Linked DNA regions of Homo sapiens: regions 2 and 3 are each linked to region 1. The links are contacts of gene promoters, found by promoter capture Hi-C in blood cells and fetal thymus (Javierre and others, 2016). All regions are on one chromosome and are shown on one strand. The core of a region is centred on a gene start or on the middle of the fragment in contact, and the rest is flanking DNA. Distances in the headings are between cores, read along the strand shown. Region 1 holds the start of UTP23 (UTP23 small subunit processome component). Region 2 holds the start of DEPTOR (DEP domain containing MTOR interacting protein). Region 3 holds the start of TAF2 (TATA-box binding protein associated factor 2).

Evidence for each region. The method cuts DNA at HindIII sites, captures the fragments that hold promoters and counts their contacts. A CHiCAGO score of 5 or more calls a contact.
Region 2: a contact is called between the fragment with the promoter of DEPTOR here and the fragment with the promoter of UTP23 in region 1, in 1 of 17 cell types (non-activated CD4 T cells). The highest score is 6.1, in non-activated CD4 T cells.
Region 3: the fragment with the promoter of TAF2 here is called in contact with the fragment with the promoter of UTP23 in region 1 in 3 of 17 cell types (non-activated CD4 T cells, total B cells and total CD8 T cells); the score reaches 7.0 in non-activated CD4 T cells.

The regions. Positions count from the first base shown.
Region 1 is chr8:116,764,813-116,767,982 of GRCh38, forward strand. UTP23 (UTP23 small subunit processome component) reads left to right here and starts at 1,712. Exons shown (of 3, transcript NM_032334.3): 1 at 1,712-1,979. The coding sequence starts at 1,792. It also overlaps a transcript of EIF3H not described here. RefSeq lists enhancers at 1,629-1,778, 1,789-2,098. The HindIII fragment of the contact is 9,967 bases long and covers 1-2,703 here.
Region 2 is chr8:119,872,217-119,875,386 of GRCh38, forward strand. DEPTOR (DEP domain containing MTOR interacting protein) reads left to right here and starts at 1,506. Exons shown (of 9, transcript NM_022783.4): 1 at 1,506-1,752. The coding sequence starts at 1,631. RefSeq lists enhancers at 1,333-1,627, 1,368-1,868, 1,544-1,803, 1,869-2,369, 2,004-2,103 and 1 more and a silencer at 1,352-1,524. The HindIII fragment of the contact is 2,864 bases long and covers 156-3,019 here.
Region 3 is chr8:119,831,155-119,834,324 of GRCh38, forward strand. It overlaps TAF2 (TATA-box binding protein associated factor 2), which reads right to left and starts at 1,687. Exons shown (of 26, transcript NM_003184.4): 1 at 1,328-1,687; 2 at 523-577. The coding sequence starts at 1,410. It overlaps DSCC1 (DNA replication and sister chromatid cohesion 1), which reads right to left. Exons shown (of 9, transcript NM_024094.3): 9 at 2,822-3,170. It overlaps LOC105375728 (a long non-coding RNA gene), which reads left to right and starts at 1,725. Exons shown (of 4, transcript XR_928590.3): 1 at 1,725-1,922. RefSeq lists enhancers at 1,339-1,388, 1,449-1,808. The HindIII fragment of the contact is 3,868 bases long and covers 1,613-3,170 here.

The DNA.
Region 1 (3,170 bases), core at 462-2,961:
CCGGCCGAAAACTTTGTTTTAAACTTGATAATCACCATTATAGACCATCTTCATGTTTTCATAATAAAGATAGGGTGCAAACTGGCACTGTCATATACATAGAGCTTGGGGAAAAAATGTGCTGTAGCTTGGTAAATTAAAAAACGACAACAAAAACTAAGATAAGACTAAAATCCCTAGTGCTGCACCACATTTTTCTTAGTACTGAAAAGTGGCCAAGGAGCTGGTAGATAAATCTGAGGCTATTTAAGAAAAAATGTTTTAACTGTTTTGCAAGACTCAGGTGGTATCTCGTTTCTCTGTCTGTGGTGGGCGCATAGTTGGAGTAGAGAGTTGGCATACAGGGATAAAAAGAGGATTCAAATTGAAAAGTACTGAGCAATTACACTCAAAGACCTTGAATCCAACCCTGCAAAAGTTTTCATGGCTTCCAATTCCTAAATTCATTTTAAGTTTAAATGAAAGCAACCATCTAAGTGATGTGCTGGGACTCAGATCAGGGCTAACATTATAGATCTTATTCCAATTTCATAAACCTACATATTGAAATAAAACCCCAAATGCAAACAATGCATTCAATCACGTTGTAAATCATTTTCTGTGCTGGTTCTTTCAATCTTTAGCCAAAACTAGATCTGGGACAGATTCCAGGCAAGGACAAAAATGCAAAATTCCATACTCCCCATTCTTTGATTATTTTACCTTGAAGTGGATACTCGACAGTTAGCCACGGGAGAACTTGAAATTTTCTGATTCATTCTCCTCATTAATCAAATTGACCAAGTAATTTTTAAACCTCCAGTCAGCTTTGTGCCTTCCTGTTACTGGCCCAGTATGTAGTCTTCCTATGTCAGAGACCATGCACATAAAAAGAGTACTTGAAACTTATCTAGACCTACAACCAGTTTGACAGTGAGGAAGTTGAACCCAGCTTTCTTCGGGAGTTGCCCAAGATCAAACGGCTTGGGTTTGTGGCAAAACCAGGACTCAAGGTTAGGAATTCTGACTCTAGGCAAACGAAGCTCTTGAGAGTTCTTCCAAAACACTCCATGCGAGTGATTTAGGATGGTCCTAAGGCAGGAGGAAATGCAAAATGGTGGCACCCTTTGCCCTGACAAATGGTTCCTGAGTGACGTTAGTTTCTATGGTGGTGTAGCAAGAACATTTGAACTTCAGGCACGAAAACTGGGTTCCAGACACTAACAAACTACGTGCCCTTCGTGAACGTGCTTAATTTCTTTATGGGAAAGCAGCCAGTACAAACCTCCCCACTCATAGCTATCCAATATATCATTTCCTTCTTTCACTTGGGAATTATAAACATTCAGGGGAATAATGTAAGGTAAATCACTTAGGACAGTGTCTGGAACATATTAAGGCTCAATATTATCACTGACTACTACTATACTGCCAGTCTTTCAGAGAAGCTCTTGCTACGCGCCTCTAAAACGTAGGTAACACGCTAAATGTATTCTCGTAATTTTCTTTTACCGTGGCCCCAGACTGCGCATGTGCGCCCCCGTGCGGAATCGCGCACCCCAGCGGTTTTCCAGCGTACGCACAAGTTCCGCCCTAAGGGACCGCCCCTTTAAGCGCGGGCACTGCGGTGGAAGCGCGCGCTGGTCTGGACATGACGTAAACCAATGGGCAGGCCCGGAAGACAGAGGCGTTTGCTTCCGTGGCCAAAGGCGCTTCATTTCCGGGTGAAACTGGCATTGAGGGTACTGGGGCGTGCGTGAGGCGTTTACTGATGCTTCCTGGTCCGGTGGCCTCGGTCCCGGTAAGCCAGGCATGAAGATCACAAGGCAGAAACATGCCAAGAAGCATCTTGGCTTCTTCCGCAACAACTTCGGAGTCCGCGAGCCGTACCAGATCCTGCTGGACGGCACCTTCTGTCAGGCGGCGCTGCGGGGCCGCATCCAGCTGCGGGAGCAGCTGCCCCGCTACCTCATGGGGGAGACGCAGCTGTGCACCACAAGGTGGGCCCGGGGGGCTGGGGAGGAGGCACAGAGGGTCCGTCGGGTGTTGTAGAGGCGAGGCCGTTGCTCACAGACCTTCATTGCGAGCTCAGGAGGTGCAAAACGCCCCGCCCACGTGGAGTTGACAGTTAAGTGGAGAGGTGAAGGTGGTCAGGCGAATACCTATAATAGAGGCAGATTGGACAGTGCCCTGTGAATATCACGTGTCGTTAGCCTGGCGAATGAGAGCACATTATAGCAGAGAGATCCGACTTCGAATCTTGATCCCAGTTCTACCAGCTCTGTGATTTCTGTCAAGTTATTTAGCCTCTCTGAGCCTCGGATTCCTCATTTGTAAAATAAAGATGATAACTGCTTAGAAGATTGCTGTAAGCTCAAACGAGTATAGTGTACTAGAGCATTTTTCGGTATCCAAAGTGTACCCGTCTTCAAATGGTTGCTGTCATTTGCATAGCTTTTCTTAGTTTAAACCAAAACTCTGCAAGCCTCACAGTGAACCTGTGAGTTACCATCTTTGATGTCCAGGGCAAAAAGTCAGTACTTGAGATTAAGGAATCTGCCCAAGCACATTTGTTTATTCAACTCGCTTTATTAAGTACCTCCTATATGCCACATACTGCTCCCTCATGGCCAGTAAAGTGCATAAGTCAGTCTGCAGTGTGTGTTTTCACTCTAGGTCTGATGTTTCCCCACTTCATTGAAATGTGGGAACACTTAGGATGGAAGCTTGTCGGGATGAAGAGGAGAGAGGAGAGAATTGTGACAGATTTCAGATAACATTTGAGCCCATTCACTTGTTCAGTTCTGAGAGGAAGAACTATTTTGAATGACAGAAAAGAATGACACTTCTTGTTGTGGAGACCTCTTCACACGAAATGGAGTTATGAAATGCCTGGGAAAGAGGTTGCAGCACAGAATATATTTGGGAGTGAAACTAGGAAGAAGGCAAATTGAGGCTAGGCCATGAAGAACTATTAAGAAATTTAGTAGTTTTTTCATTGTAGAATATTTACTTTTAAAAAGCAAAAAAAGAAAATTAAAATGACTCATAATACCACTACTCACGAATAATCACTGTTAACATGTGCAGTGTCATCCATCCAGTTCTTTATACACACTCACACAAGCACAAGAATGGACTTTTAAGCCAGGCAAGGTGGCTCACACTTGTAATCCTAGTAGCTACACAGG
Region 2 (3,170 bases), core at 256-2,755, 3.1 Mb after region 1:
ACCTAACATCTGTCTCATGCAGATTCAGAGCTGGTCTGCTCCCGGATGTTCAAGGGAGTTGGGCAACTATTCTCTTTCTGGAGTGGGGCTGAGTATGGCCAGGGTTTAAGGGCTACCTAACTTTCTAGGCAGATTACTTCATCTTTCTATACTTAAGCTTTCTCATTTGTAAGTTGAAAATAATACCAAACTCCAGGGTTTTGTGAGGATAAAGTGTTTGGCACAATGTAAAGCACAGAATAAATGCTCAACACACATGAATACTGCCATAAACATTACTTCGCCTTCCTGCAGACCAACTCCGACTCTGCATGAAACAGAAAATCAGAACATTTATTTGGTACTAATCAAATTTCTTTTCATAATCTTTTACGGATAGACAATACCATTGTATCCCCATTTTAAGAGGCAGTCTTTCAGTCTTTTCAAAGCATAACTTTGAAGCCAGAATTGCCTCGGTTAGATTTCTTCTTATTATTATTATGATGATTTGAGACGGAGTCTCGCTCTTGTTGCCCAGGCTGGAATGCAATGGCACTAACTCCGCTCACCCGAACTCGGCTTACAGCAACCTCCGCCTCCCGGGTTCGAGCGATTCTCCTGCCTCAGCCTCCGAAGTAGCTAGGATTACAGGCATGCACCACCACGCCCGGCTAATTTTGTATTTTTAGTAGAGACGGGGTTTCTTCATGTTGGTCAGGCTGGTCTGGAACTCCTGACCTCAGGTGATCTGCCCGCCTCGGCCTCCCAAAGTGCTGGGATTACAGGCATGAGCCACGGTGCCCGGCTCTTCTTATACTTATTATTTGCTTGCCTTAGACAAGTAACTTCACCTCTCCAAGCCTGCATTCTAATGCAAAACGAACACCAATACCTATTTTATGAATTATTGTAATAATTAAACGAGGTAATACCATACCTGAAGTATCTTTAATGCAGCAGATGTCAAAAGTGGTAGCCGCAATTATTTTTATTTTGTAAGGGAGGATTAAACACATTTAAATAGGACATCACAGGAGCGGAGCTGGATCCCAGGTCAGCCTGATTCCTAGGCCGGCGTTCCTTATTGATTACAACATAAGGCAAACAAGTCGTCTTTGGAGAGAGAGGTTGGGGAGAGAAGAATGTTTAATTTCTCCATGCCCTTCAATGACATGTATAACCTTCACTGTTGACCATTTGGCCAGATTGTTGAATTATGTTTTGCTCTCTGGCAACTTGGGGTGTGGAACGTACAATAAAAACGCCTTCACACTAATAACCTCCAGGCCTGTCCCCAGGATTCTACAGCATGAGCTTTGTGGGTAAAGAGAGCTCACCAAATTCAGCCTCCAGCAGCACACACAGCTCAGTAGCAGCGCCCCGCCCAGATGTTTATATTTTCCTCCATCGGCCCCGCCCCCCGACCATGAGGGGCTCTAGCCACGCCCCCAAGCTCAAGTTTCTGGGGCCGGACTAGCCCAGCGCGTCTGCCTACCCATAGGGATTCCCTCTCCAGCCAATCCAGTCAGAGCAGCGGAGCTGCCCCGAACAAAGATGGCGCGGGAAGCGTCTGTGAGGGCAGACTGATCCGAGCACCCAAACCCTCGGCGGACAGCGGAGCCAGTGGTAGCCGCACGGCCCTAAAACCATGGAGGAGGGCGGCAGCACTGGCAGTGCTGGCAGTGACAGCAGCACCAGCGGGAGTGGCGGGGCGCAGCAAAGGGAGCTGGAGCGCATGGCTGAGGTCTTGGTCACCGGGGAACAGCTACGGTAAGGCAAGAGACACAGCGGGTGAGCTCACGATGGCACTGCCAACGCGTGCCCGCTGCAGTCCTGCGCGCACGCGCTCCCTGGCTCGTGGCTTGCGACTCGCGTGGGGCGCCGGAACGGCTGCGGGCGCGTGGATGGTCCTCGGTGCGCCCGCGCTTAGCTGCTGCAGCCTCGGTCCCTGAGGACTCGCTCGCCAAGCGGGGCTGCCTGGCAGAAGCCGACGAGCGGGTGGTGCGCGCTGCGCCCTAGCCTGGCTGCTGCAGTCCTGTGCCGGGCAAAGTCCCTGCCACCCACCGCGCTGTCCGTCTTCCCGTGTACCTGGACGCCGCCAGGCCTCCCGGCTGACAGCCTGCGCCTCATCCGCGAAGAGAGCAAGAGGGGTCGCTGTGGGGTCCCGAGGCGACCCCAGCCCCTCTACTCCTTGATAAAAGGAGCAAGACCAACGATAGTCTTCACTAGGTTTTCCTTTTTGCTGACAAGTCTTCCTTCACTCCCCTGAGCCTCGGTGTTTTACATCTGTAAAACAGGGCTGATTCAAGGGCTTTTTGTGAGGTTAAACTGAGAGAGCATTTCTGAAACCCTGCACCTATCAGTTAATTGGCACATCGTCCTCAATCATTTGGGTCCGCAAGGGGGCGTGGAGGCACCTTGTCGGGCTGCCTTGAGGCTGTGCCAACTCCCCGGGCTCGCACGTTTTGGGCAGCAGGATCCATGGGGACCCTGGCTCCTGCAAGAATTAAGACTTGCGGCGTCTCACGGAACTTGGGAACAAGGACGACCCCCAGAATCCCCCTTGCCATTCCCATCCCTGTATGGTCCTTCCTCTAGGGCTGTTTGGGAATAGTACTTATGGTCTAACTGGTTCTGCAGCTGCCCTTCGTGTGGTTATAAATCAGTTTGCCAGGAAAAAGAAAACCCAGCTCTGCAGCGTTTGAGCCACAACTTGTACGCGGGCCCCTGTTACTTCTAGTTCTTAGCCTGAATTCCCCAGCTTGTTTTGGTTTCTAAATGTCTGTGTTTCAGGACCTGAAAGAGTGTCTTGCAAAGGTCTCTGAAGGAGACCAATATTGGAAGTCAGAATTAACTGATTTTTAATGTTACAAAAGGCAAATTGCACCTATCGATTCTTTGTTGATTTTTAAAAATACGTGGTCAGAATTAAAGGGAATAAAAACTTTTTTTCCTTCATCAAAAGTACTTTCTAATGAAACCTGTCACGCGGTGCCCGTGTGAAGAGACCACCGAACAAGTTTTGTGTGAGCAATAAAGCTTTTTAATCACCTGGGTGCAGGTGGACTGAGTCTAAAAACGGAGTCAGCAAAGGGAGATGGGGAAGGGGTTGTTTTATAGGAGTTGGGTAGATGATGGATAGTGGTGTAAGTTTGTGAGGTGCAGTCCAAGAAGGCGGGGGTGACTTC
Region 3 (3,170 bases), core at 437-2,936, 3.1 Mb after region 1:
AAAATTGATTATATCAGCAATCCATACATCTAAATTGTGTCGGGAGGCAGGGGGAGGTAGAGGGTTTCTAGATCTCAAATACTCTATCTAAAACTTCATTACAAAGCAACATCACCTAAACCAAGTCAGTCAAGAAGCAAAAATGGCCTCTTAGAAGCCAAGTCAGTGAGTGTATTAATCTTAATTTTTTTCATAGAAGAAATGTCGCTATGGGCTTATACTTGTTTCATGCACAATTATAAAATGCTTGGCTATACAGGCTTTCATATTATACACCAGATAAAGAGGAATAAAATTTTAATTAGGAAATTGAAAAAAAAGGAAAGGGAGAATTTGGGAGGCAATAGGTATTAATAGAAGGACCATGGAACTTGTAATCATACAGACCCTAATTTTAATTCTTACCTATTCTTGAAACACAATTATCTGGAAGACTACAAACTTTCTAAGTACTGTGAGGGGTGGATTGTTACTCTTTATAGTGGACTTGTTACTATTTATAATTGTTGAGAATAAACTTACCACAACAGATTTTCTCTGGAAATTTATGTTGTTGATGCAGACGACCTGATGGGTTGTATATTAATAAATATAAAAAGAAAATAAGGAAAAAATAATTTTTATTATTAAATCAAAGTATAATTCTATCCAAGTATAAATTAGGACTATGTTCTAAGTAATTCAAAATTACATGTCAATATTTCATTTTAAAACTACGAATTGGGGCCTGGTGCGGTGGCTCACGCCTGTAATCCCAGCACTTTGGGAGGCCACGGCAAGCGGATCACGAGGTCAAGAGTTCGAGACCAGCCTGGCCAACAGAGTGAAACCGAGTCTCTACTAAAAATACAAAAGTTAGCCGGGCATCGTGGCACACGCCTGTAATCCCGGCTACTCAGGAGGCTGAGCCAGGAGAAAAGCTTGAACCCGGCAGGTGGAGGCTGCAGTGAGCCGAGATCGCGCCGTTGCACTCCAGCCTGGGCGACTGAGAGACTCCGTCTTAAAAATTAAAAAATTAAAAAAAAAAAAACACTCTACCAATTGGGATAATTTTTTAAAATCTAGCAACAGTCACGAAAACAGATTTGACAGAAATACAATCTAGTACTTAGACAAAAACTTTAGTAACTTGCAACGGGAATTAAATTTGCTGAATAACCTGTCATTCAAAACATTTTTACCTTACAAACACCATTTCCATCACAGTGAGTAAATTCTAGTTTCCCACTAGGTTTCCCAGGCCCACCAAGTCAATTTCAAGCAATCGCAAAATATAATTAATGGCAACAAAACCAAAAGGAAGGAAGGGAAATGAAAAAATACTTATAATTTATATGGCCTTGGGCTTTCAAAGCCCTTGTCTCCTTTCTTCCTGTTCATTCTGGCGGGCTCTACACCAGTCAGCGGCATGAAGCGGTCCCGCGGAGCTTGGCTTCCCGGCTTCCTAGGGGGATACGGGGCATTACTAGTCTTTGGCACCTCACACTCTCCACTCCCCTGCGGTCCCCAAGTCACGTCTCGCAGCTGGCCGGTGCCCAGGTGAGCGACCTGACGGGTCGCTGCCCGCCTCAACCTCGCTCCTTCGACTAGCTCCTAGAAGCCGCCGTCGACAAGCTTCTGTCACAGAGATGCTCCTCTCCGCAAGGGCTCGAAGCTACCATCCGCCGACATCTTGTCTGTAACCTCTGACCTCCGACGTCAGCGGAAGTGGAACGGCGGCGGGGGTAGAACCAGGAAGTCTTGTCAATGGGCAGGGCTTGCGATCTTCGCATGTGTCTTATCGTAAAGAATTGTTAAAATTTAGGATAGGGAAAAAACTATTTAATGGATGAAGCGAGAACAGCAGGAAGAAAAGGAGGGAAGGTAGTTTTCTAGTACAAGCATATTGAGAAGAATGGAGGACAAAGTTTGCGAAGAGCCAGGTATAAATAGGCTGGGGCAGGGTGCTAGTAACTGGGCGGGGTGGGGTGGTGGGAAGTCTCCCGAAATCAGGAGGTGCGTGCCTCTGGCTTGCTGTGTGAACAGACACACTGGGTCCGGTGATTTAAGCTGTAAAATATGTGATTAGACTGCAGGTAGTCTAAATGTCAAAACTGCAGCACTCCACAGCTCTCACTAGGCACTGCTGCCTTAGTATTTATTTTAAAATATAGATTACAAGGCCGGGCGCAGTGGCTCACTCCTGTAATCCCAACACTTTGGGAGGCCGAGGCGGGCCGATCATTTGAGGTCAGGAGTTCGAGACCAGCCTGACCAACATGGTGAAACCCCGTCTCTACTAAAAATTACACAAAATTAGCTGGGCGTGGTGGTGCACGCCTGTAATCCCAGCTACTTGGGAGGCTGGGGCAGGAGAATTGCTTGAACCTGGGAGACGGAAGTTGCAGCGAGCTGAGATCGTTCCACTGCACTCCAGCCTGGGCGACAGAGCTGAGACTGTCTCAGAAAAAAAAAAAAAGAATAAAATATAGACTACAGGCCAGGCGTGGTGGCTCACGCCTGTAATCCTAGCACTTAGGGAAACTGAGGCAGTCATATCACTTGAGGTCAGCAGTTCAAGACCAGCCTGGCCAACATGGTGAAAGCCCGTCTCTAGTAAAAATACAAAAATTAGCCCTGCGTCGTGGCGTGCGCCTGTATTCCCAGCCACTCGGGAGGGTGAGGCACCAGAATCACCTGAACTCGGGAAGCCGAGTTTGCAGTGAGCTGAGATCATGCCATTGCACTCCAGTCTGGGAGACAAAGCGAGACTCCCTCTCAAAATAAATAAATAGACTACATAGAGATATATAGACTGTGTATATATATCATATAATCCATATAAATGCAGAAACATTTATTGAAAGACATTTCGAAGCCATCGTGTTTGTATTTCATGTTCATGACAATAAAACTTGTAAACTTCAGTAACAGTTAAACCTTCTTTAATTATGGATTAGCCATTAACATTTTTGAAACGTGGACCATTTAACCTCGGCCTACCCCCTCCAACTGTCCTGGTGATGAGTTCATTAGCTAAGTTAAAATTAATTTGAACTTTGATCTAAACCAAAACAAATCAGGAAAATAAAGCTGTAAAGGAACTTTATCAAGCATTCCAAAACCAACTAGAAATTACTTGAAGTTTTCGAGTGAGCATTGCCTGTGCCAGTATTCTTCATTATAGGATT